Regions from separate parts of the Homo sapiens genome. Here regions 2 and 3 are each linked to region 1. Evidence: promoter capture Hi-C in human tissues and cell types (Jung and others, 2019). All regions are on one chromosome and are shown on one strand. Each heading gives the region's core, a stretch centred on a gene start or on the middle of the fragment in contact. The rest is flanking DNA. Distances are from core to core; before and after follow the strand shown. Region 1 holds the start of COPRS (coordinator of PRMT5 and differentiation stimulator). Region 2 overlaps NF1 (neurofibromin 1). Region 3 overlaps NF1 (neurofibromin 1).

Region 1 (2,661 bases), core at 78-2,577:
ATGTCTGGGTTTAATAATTCAGTTCCACTCCCTGTAGTTAGTGACAACCTCTGGTCACTGCCGCCCAAGGAGAAGTCAGACCTCTCACCTAAACCACTGCCACGGCCTCCTAACCACCTTCCCATCCAGCCATCTGGCCCAGCCTTACAGAATTAATCACTACTCTGCTCAAAACCTTCAACAGCCCTCCACTGAGAGAGCACAAAATTAGCCATGGCATTCGCACGTCCCCTCTTCTCCCACTCCCATCAACCTGTTGAGCATAGTTCTCTGCATGCTCTGAGACCCAACTCCAGGCCATGTGCCCTGCACTTTCTCATCTCCACGCCTCTGCAGACACCACCAGCCTCTCACCTTGATCCTTTCCTGCTATGCCCTGACAAAATTAGTCCCATTCTATTCTGCACTCCAAAGTAATTTTCTTTGTAAGTGTCGCTGCATTTTTCATATCTTACTTTGGCTAAGTACCATCTTTGAGGCATCATTCATCCAGTCGGTATGTCTATCTCCTGTGCCAGGCACTATGCTAGGCTGTGCAAACAGCCCTAACAGAGGGTTCCTACCTTCAAGCCGCTCAGCACCTAGCCGGTACAGACTGTAAACAAGGACAGGTAAGAACTGTAATAACGGTCTGTAACGTTCTCGGGAAAACCAGGAGCTGTCTAGCTTACATGAAAACAAGTTTCTGGAAACCCTGCGTCAAACAGGGCCTTTCTGGTTTCAGTAAGGAGAAGGGGGAGCGCGCATGTGACATCTGGGGCTCAGGGTTAGCTGGCATCCCCACCAACGGACAGAGGTCCACAGGTCTGTAAAGTCAAGTCCCTCTCCTCGCCGCCCTCACCTGGCCCTCGCCCAGGCTCCTGGCAGCGGGCCCCGGCTCTCGGTCACCAGCGTCACCTCCCATTTACCAAATCCGCAGCGGCGCCCAGCGGGCGGACAGCCGTCTCTGCTGACCCAGAGCGCCCACCCACGCCCTCGGCTTTCCCCGCCCCGCAGCCCCGCGGCCCCGCGGCCTGGCCGTTTTCAGCTCGAGCGCGAGCCCAAACAGCGCTCCGTGTCGCGGGGCGGCCCGAGGCCGGCCAGAGGCGCTTCCCCGGCCCCGCGGCCCCCGCCCAGCCCGGCCCCGCGACTTCCCGCCCCAGGCTGCGGCTGGCTGTTGCTCCTGGCCCCCACGCGGCGCTCACCTCCGGGCTGGGGGGCGCCCCCCGCGCGCTAGGCAGCGGCGGGCCCCGAGACGGCTCCGCGGCCCCCTGCGCCTGGGCCCCGGCGGCCTGAAGGTCCATGCCCTGCGGCCCGCGGCTGGTCGCCCTGGACGCCGTGGGCCACGTGACGCGCCGGCCCGGCTGCCCGCCCGAGGATCCGCCGCAGAAGCGCCAATCAGCCTGGGGAGGGGGTGGGTACCGGCCAAGAGGGCGGGGCGCGGGGGTGTCACGAGCAAGCGGGGGCGGGGCGGCGCAGGGGGCGGGGCGCGCGGCCTCGCGGAGCCCGCCCCTCCCTCCCAGCGCGAAATCTGAAACAATCTCGGAGACGGATTTTGGAAACTCCTCTCGGTGCATATCCTAAGGCTGCACGACTAGCTGCGTGTGAAACGCCAAGCGTACCCTACTCGGCCACTCGGGGTGTGCTCCAGCTTCAAAACCCCGCGTGGGTAAGACACATGAGCAACCCAGTGACCTCCACCTTGAGCTAATGATCGTCTTTGAAGTTAATCCATTAGAAACCAAGATAGATGATTAAGACACAAACTGCAATATGCAGTGGACACAGAATACAGGCCACGACGCTTACTCATAATAATCCTGAACATTCGGGATTCCTGTATTTCCATGCTCAACGCCTGATACCGACAACCTAATTATTTCCCATTTTGCCTCGAAAGGTGGCTTCTGGGGATAGGCAGGGCCTGAGCTGGGAACAGCCCAACTGGAAAGACAGCCTTCCCTGCCTTCCCCACAGTGCCTAACCTCTAATAACAAACCAGCTCAAGGTGTGCTAATCACGTCAACATCAGGACATGAGACCCTCTTCCTTCATCCCCCTCAAAGACTGTGTTGTTTGTACAACACAAAAGGCATTTGAAAAAATTTAGCATAAAACTGACACACAATATTCGATATTATTTTTGTTCTATATGTAGATGTTCCTACACAGGAGTCAGTATCCCCAAGGCTAACTGCCTCTAGGTCAGCAATGTCCAATAGAACGTTCTTTAATGGTGGAAGTGGAAATGAAAGTTCTACTATCTGTACTGTCCAATATAGTAACCATATACCTACTGAGCACTTGAAATGTGGCCAATGTGAATAAATTGAATAATTCTAATAAATTTAAATTGCTACATGTGCCTTGGAGCTACTGTTTCTAACAGTGCAACTCTAGGTGTACTAGCTAGATGTGTTTTCATAACCTGCAATATTGAGAATCAGATACAGGGATGTGATGACCCCAGGTGACCACCCTTATAGCCTTGTGTTAAGGAGACTACCACTATCCTCTTTGCTCCCTAATCTACATATCTCTTTCGTAAAATTAAAGTGCCAAATAAGATTAAGAATGTTAAACATCCCAGGACTTAAGGGACAGGAAAAAGAGGAATTTTTTTCTTATTTTAAAACAAATGACAAGAAAACAGGGGCTGGCCGCGGTGGCTCACTCCTGTAA
Region 2 (2,661 bases), core at 77-2,576, 620 kb before region 1:
TTCAATATACTGATTTCCTTTTGTTTCAGTATATACCTAGTAGTGAGATTTCTGGATCATATAGTAGTTTTATTTTTAGTTTTTTGAGGAACCTCCAAATGGTCCTCCATAGTATTATACTAATTTACATTCCTGCCAATAGTGTATGAGGGTTCCCTTTTCTCACTTTTCTCCTTGTCACCATTTGTTATTGCCCGTCTTTTGGATAAAAGCAACTTTAGGGTGATGTGATATCTCATTGTAGTTTTGATTTGCATTTCTCTGATAATCAGTGATGTTGAGCACCTTTTCATGTACCTGTTTGCCATGTGTATTTTGTTTGTGTGTTTGTTTGTTTTGAGACACAGTCTTGCTCTGTCACACAGGTTGGAGTGTAGTGGCGTGATCTTGGCTCACTGCAACCTCTGCCTCCTGGGTTCAAGTGATTCTCCTGCCACAGCCTCCTGAGTAGCTGGGATTACAGGTGCCTGCCACGATGCCCAGCTGATTTTTGTATTTTTAGTAGAGACAGGGTTTCACCACGTTGGTCAGGCTGGTCCCAAACTCCTGACCTCAAGCAATCCACCCGCCTCGGTCTCCCAAAGTGCTGAGATTACAGGCATGAGCTACCATGCCCAGCCATGGAATATCTTTTTTCTTTGCTTTATTTTCAGTCTGTGTTTTTCCTTATAGATGATGTCTGTTTCTTGTAGGCAACAGATTGTTGGGTCATGGGTTATTTTTGTTTGTTTTTAATCCATTCAATCACTCTTACGTCTTTTGATTGGAGAATTTAGTCCATTTACATTCAGTGTTATTATTGACGAGGACTTACTCCTGCTATTTTGTTATTTGTTTTCTGGTGGTTTTGTGGTCTTCTCTTCCTCCTTTTCTTCCTTCCTGCCTTCCCTTTAGTAAAAGTGATTTTCACAGATGATATGTGTTAATTTCTTGCTTTTTATTTTTTGTGCATCTGTTGTATGTTTTTGATTTGAGGTTACCATGAGGCTTGCCAATAATATTTTATGAGCCATTCTTTTAAGCTGATGACAAGTTAACACTGATGGCATAAAGCAGCAAACAAAGAAGCAAAAAGAAAACTAATAAAAACTCTACACTTTAACTTTATCCCCCTACTTTTTAACTTTTTGTTGTTTTTATGTATACCTTATTATACTGTCTGTATCTTGAAAAGCTGTAGTTATTTGTAAAAGGTTCATCTTTTAGTCTTCTCAAGATAGTAGTTCATACCACAATTACAGTGTTATAATATTTTGTGTATTTACTGTTACCAGTGAATTTTGTACCTTCAGATTTCTTATTGCTTGTTAATGTCCTTTTCCTTTTGATTGAAGAACTCCCTTTAGCATTTCTTCTAGGACAGGTCTGGCATTGATAAAATCCCTCAGCTTTTGTTTGTCTAGGAAAGTCTTTATTTCTCCATATATGAAGGATATTTTCACTGGATACTGTTCTAAGGTAAAAGTTTTTTTTTTTTCTTTATCACTTGAAATATGTCATGCCACTCTCTCCTGGCCTCTAAGGTTTCCACTGAGAAGTCTGGGGCCAGACATATTGGAGCTCCATTGTATGTTATTTGTTTCTTTCCTCTTGCTGCTTTTAGGATCCTTTCTTTATCCTTGACCTTTGGGAGTCTGATTATTAAATACCTTGAGTTAATCTTCTTTGGTTTAAATCTGTTTGGTGTTCTGTAACCTTCCTGGACTTGAATATTGATAAATATCTTTCCCTAGGTTTCATAAGTTCTCTTTTTTTTTTTTTTTTTTTTTTTTTTTGAGATGGAGGTTCACTCTTGTCGCCCAGGCTGCAGTGCAATGGTGCAACCTCTGCTCACTGCACCCTCCGCCTCTACCTCCTCTTTAAGGCCAGTAACTCTTAAATTTGCTCTTTTGAGGCTGTTTTCTAGATCTTGTAAGCATGCTTCATTCTTTATTCTTGTCTCCTCTGTGTATTTTCATATAGGCTGCCTTCAAGCTTGCTAATTCTTCTGCTTCATCAATTTTGCTTTTAAGAGACTCTTGATGCATATTTCAGTATGTCAGCTGCATTTTTCGTCTCCAGAATTTCTCTCTGGTTCTTTGTAATTGTTTCAATCTCTTCGTTAAATTTATCTGATAGGATTCCGAATTCCTTCTCCACATTATCATGGATTTCCTTGAGCTTCCTCAAAACAGCTATTTTGACTCCTCGGTCTGAGAGGTCACATATCGCTGTCTCTCCAGGATTGATCACTGGTGCCTTCTTTAATTCCTTCGGTGGGTCATGTTTTTCTGGATGGTCTTGATGCTTATGGATGTTCATTAGTGCCTGGGCATTGAAGAGTTAGGTATTTTTGTAGTCTTTGTAGTCTGGGCTTGTTTGTACCCACCCTTCTGGGGAAGGCTTTCCAAGTATTTGAAGGCACTTGGGTGTTGTTATCTTAAGTCTTTGGTCACTGCAGCTATATCTGCTTTAGGGGACACTCCAAGCCCAATAACGCTGTGGCTCTTGTACACTCATAGCGGTACCACCTTGGTGGTCTTGCATAAGATCCTGGAGAATTCCCTGGGTTATCAAACAGACTCTTGTTCTCTTCTTCTCTTCCCTTACTTTCCTCTAAACAAACAGAGTCAGTCTCTCTCTCTGTCTGTGTGTGTGTGTGTGTGTGTGTGTGTGTTGAGC
Region 3 (2,500 bases), core at 1-2,500, 520 kb before region 1:
AGCTTGATGAGGTCAACTTGTATTCAGCAGGTACCGCACTTCTTGAACAAAACCTGCATACTTTAGATAGTCTCCGTATATTCAATGACAAGGTAAGCAAACTTTGCCTTGAGGTTCCTAGATTACTCAAATTTAGTACTCTTCCATCTTTTCTTGTTGCTATTCTTTTAAAATCACAAGAAGTCCATAACTTAAGTAGGAATTTGTATAATGTAACTTATTGTGAGTATATTTCCTTACCAGCTCATAAAGAACTATGTAAACTTGAATGCATATTTTTTACATAAAAATAGCAAAAAAAAAAAAACAAAAAAAAAACAGTACTGGCCTAATACTAGTAGAATTACAGAATAAGGATAAATAATACATGATCATCCTTACAGAATGAGCATAAACAATACATGGTAATAATATTAATAGCTACCATGCCAGGCCGTATGCTAAACACTATACATTTATTTTTAATTTTCATAACCTTAAGGTAAAGGTTAGCATTCTCTGCCCCCCATTTCACACGTGAAGAAATAATCTAAAAGTAATCTTAGTTTTACTTAATAATGCCACTTAATGAAAAATACGTATAATTCATAGTAGATAAGGAAGTTGGAGAGTCTAAAGGAAACTTTTGGGTACTTAATTTTACTAGTTTTTTTATTCTGTCTAATCTTACTTTAAAATATACCATTAGTGGCCAGGAGTGGTGGCTCATACCTGTAGTCCCAGCACTTTGGGAGGCCAAGACAGGTGGATCAGTTGAGCTCAGGAGTTAGAGAACAGCCTGGGCAACTTGCAAAACCCCATCTCTACAAAAAAGGCAAAAATTAGCTAGGCATGGTGGCATGCACCTACAATCCCAGCTACTCGGGAGGTGAGGTAGGAGGATTGCTTGAGCCTGGGAGGCAGAGGTTGCAGTGAGCTGAGATCACGCCACTGCACTCCAGCTTGGGCAACAGAGCAAGACCCTGTCTCCAAAAAAAAGTGTGTATACATATATTACATACACACATATATATGTAATGTATGTGTATATATATATATAAAGTGTGTGTGTGTGTGTGTGTGTGTGTACACACATAAAATATGTAAAATCCAACTCCAATTAAGGTTAATAAATGTTAGGAGGGGTGCTAATGGGGTGTGTGTGTGTGTGTGCACGTGTGCATGTGTGTGTGTATATATATATGAACATGGGCAAATTACTTCTTAGTTCCTTTCTAATTTGTAAAATGGAGATCTAATTGGGGTTGGATTTTAGTTCATAGAGAATAGAGGAGAGAATAAAATAGTATGAAATTACGTCCCTTTTGTCTTTGGATAAAAATGGGAAGGGTCTAGGAGAAAAGAGGGGAATGTTTTTAAAAGAATGTGTATATACAGTGAGATTTGCTTGAAGTGAAATTAACTGAACTGTGGGTACAAAGAACAGGATTATGGTTTTAAGTGTAAAAAGATACTTGGTCTAAACATTATTAGTTCAGTCTACCAGATGTAGTGTGAACCTGGAACAGATATGGGTCTGAAAAATATAGAAGCAAAATTTTAGAGGTAAGAGGTCTTATGGAGTTTATTAATCAGACCTCCATTTTGCAAATTAGAAAGGAACTAAGAAGTTAAGTAACTTGCCCATGCTTGTACATCTGTTTTGGGACTAGAACCCCTCTGTCCTAATTCTCATTGCCGTTTTTCTAAAACTGTTTTGGGACAGTGGTGGTCAGCGATATCTAGTTGTTGGCTATTTATATGTTAAGAATATTTGCAAATTGGCCGGGTGCAATGGCGCATGTTTGTAATTCCAGCACTCTGGGAGGCCGAGTTGGGAGGATCACTTGAGGTTAGGAGTTCGAGACCAGCCTGGCCAACATGGTGACACCCTGTCTCTACTAAAAATACAAAAATTAGCCAGGGTGGCACATGTTTGTAACTCCAGCGACCTGGGAGGCTGAGGTGGGAAGATCTCTTGAACCCAGGAGGTTGCAGTGAGCCAAGGTGGTGCCACTGCACTCCAGCCTGGGCGACAGAGTAAGACTCCATCTCAAAAAAAGAATATTTGCAAATGGAGCATTGCAAATGGGGCATCTGCCTCGGTATTTTCATCTTCAAAACAGCCCAGTAGCGGGAGCTAATATTGATTCTAGTGCCCTTTGGATGCTAGGCATCAGAGTTAATAAGCATGTTAAAAGTCACCGGGATGTAAATTGACAGTCATTTATTTTGTATTGTAAATAAAAGTGATTTCATCTTCCACCATCTTCTTATTTATATGCTTGACTGTCTTGCACCAGTTAATTTGTAGTAGCTAAAATGTTCTGTGGTTTTCTGCAGTCAACTGAAAATAATTTCTCTCAAATTGAAAGGATTACTTATCTTGTCATACTATTGAACACAAAATTAAGTGAGCCTTTAAAGAAAGCTACTGTGTGAACCTCATCAACCATCTCATGATTATCTTTAATAGAGTCCAGAGGAAGTATTTATGGCAATCCGGAATCCTCTGGAGTGG

The links. The method cuts DNA at HindIII sites, captures the fragments that hold promoters and counts their contacts. A contact is called where the count stands out against the background at its distance.
Region 2: a fragment that was not itself captured here is called in contact with the fragment with the promoter of COPRS in region 1 in 1 of the 25 tissues and cell types used here (lymphoblastoid cells).
Region 3: a contact is called between a fragment that was not itself captured here and the fragment with the promoter of COPRS in region 1, in 1 of the 25 tissues and cell types used here (dorsolateral prefrontal cortex).

What each region holds. Positions count from the first base shown.
Region 1 is chr17:31,857,917-31,860,577 of GRCh38, forward strand. COPRS (coordinator of PRMT5 and differentiation stimulator) reads right to left here and starts at 1,328. Exons shown (of 4, transcript NM_018405.4): 1 at 1,185-1,328. The coding sequence starts at 1,283. RefSeq lists an enhancer at 315-989 and a silencer at 1,049-1,478. The HindIII fragment of the contact is 7,860 bases long and covers 1-2,661 here.
Region 2 is chr17:31,240,558-31,243,218 of GRCh38, forward strand. The region is part of intron 29 of NF1 (neurofibromin 1); the gene reads left to right. Among named protein-coding and RNA genes, the nearest start is that of OMG, 55 kb to the right of the region's middle. The HindIII fragment of the contact is 8,880 bases long and covers 1-2,661 here.
Region 3 is chr17:31,340,554-31,343,053 of GRCh38, forward strand. It overlaps NF1 (neurofibromin 1), which reads left to right. Exons shown (of 58, transcript NM_001042492.3): 47 at 1-92; 48 at 2,456-2,500. Among named protein-coding and RNA genes, the nearest start is that of EVI2A, 20 kb to the left of the region's middle. The HindIII fragment of the contact is 6,090 bases long and covers 1-2,500 here.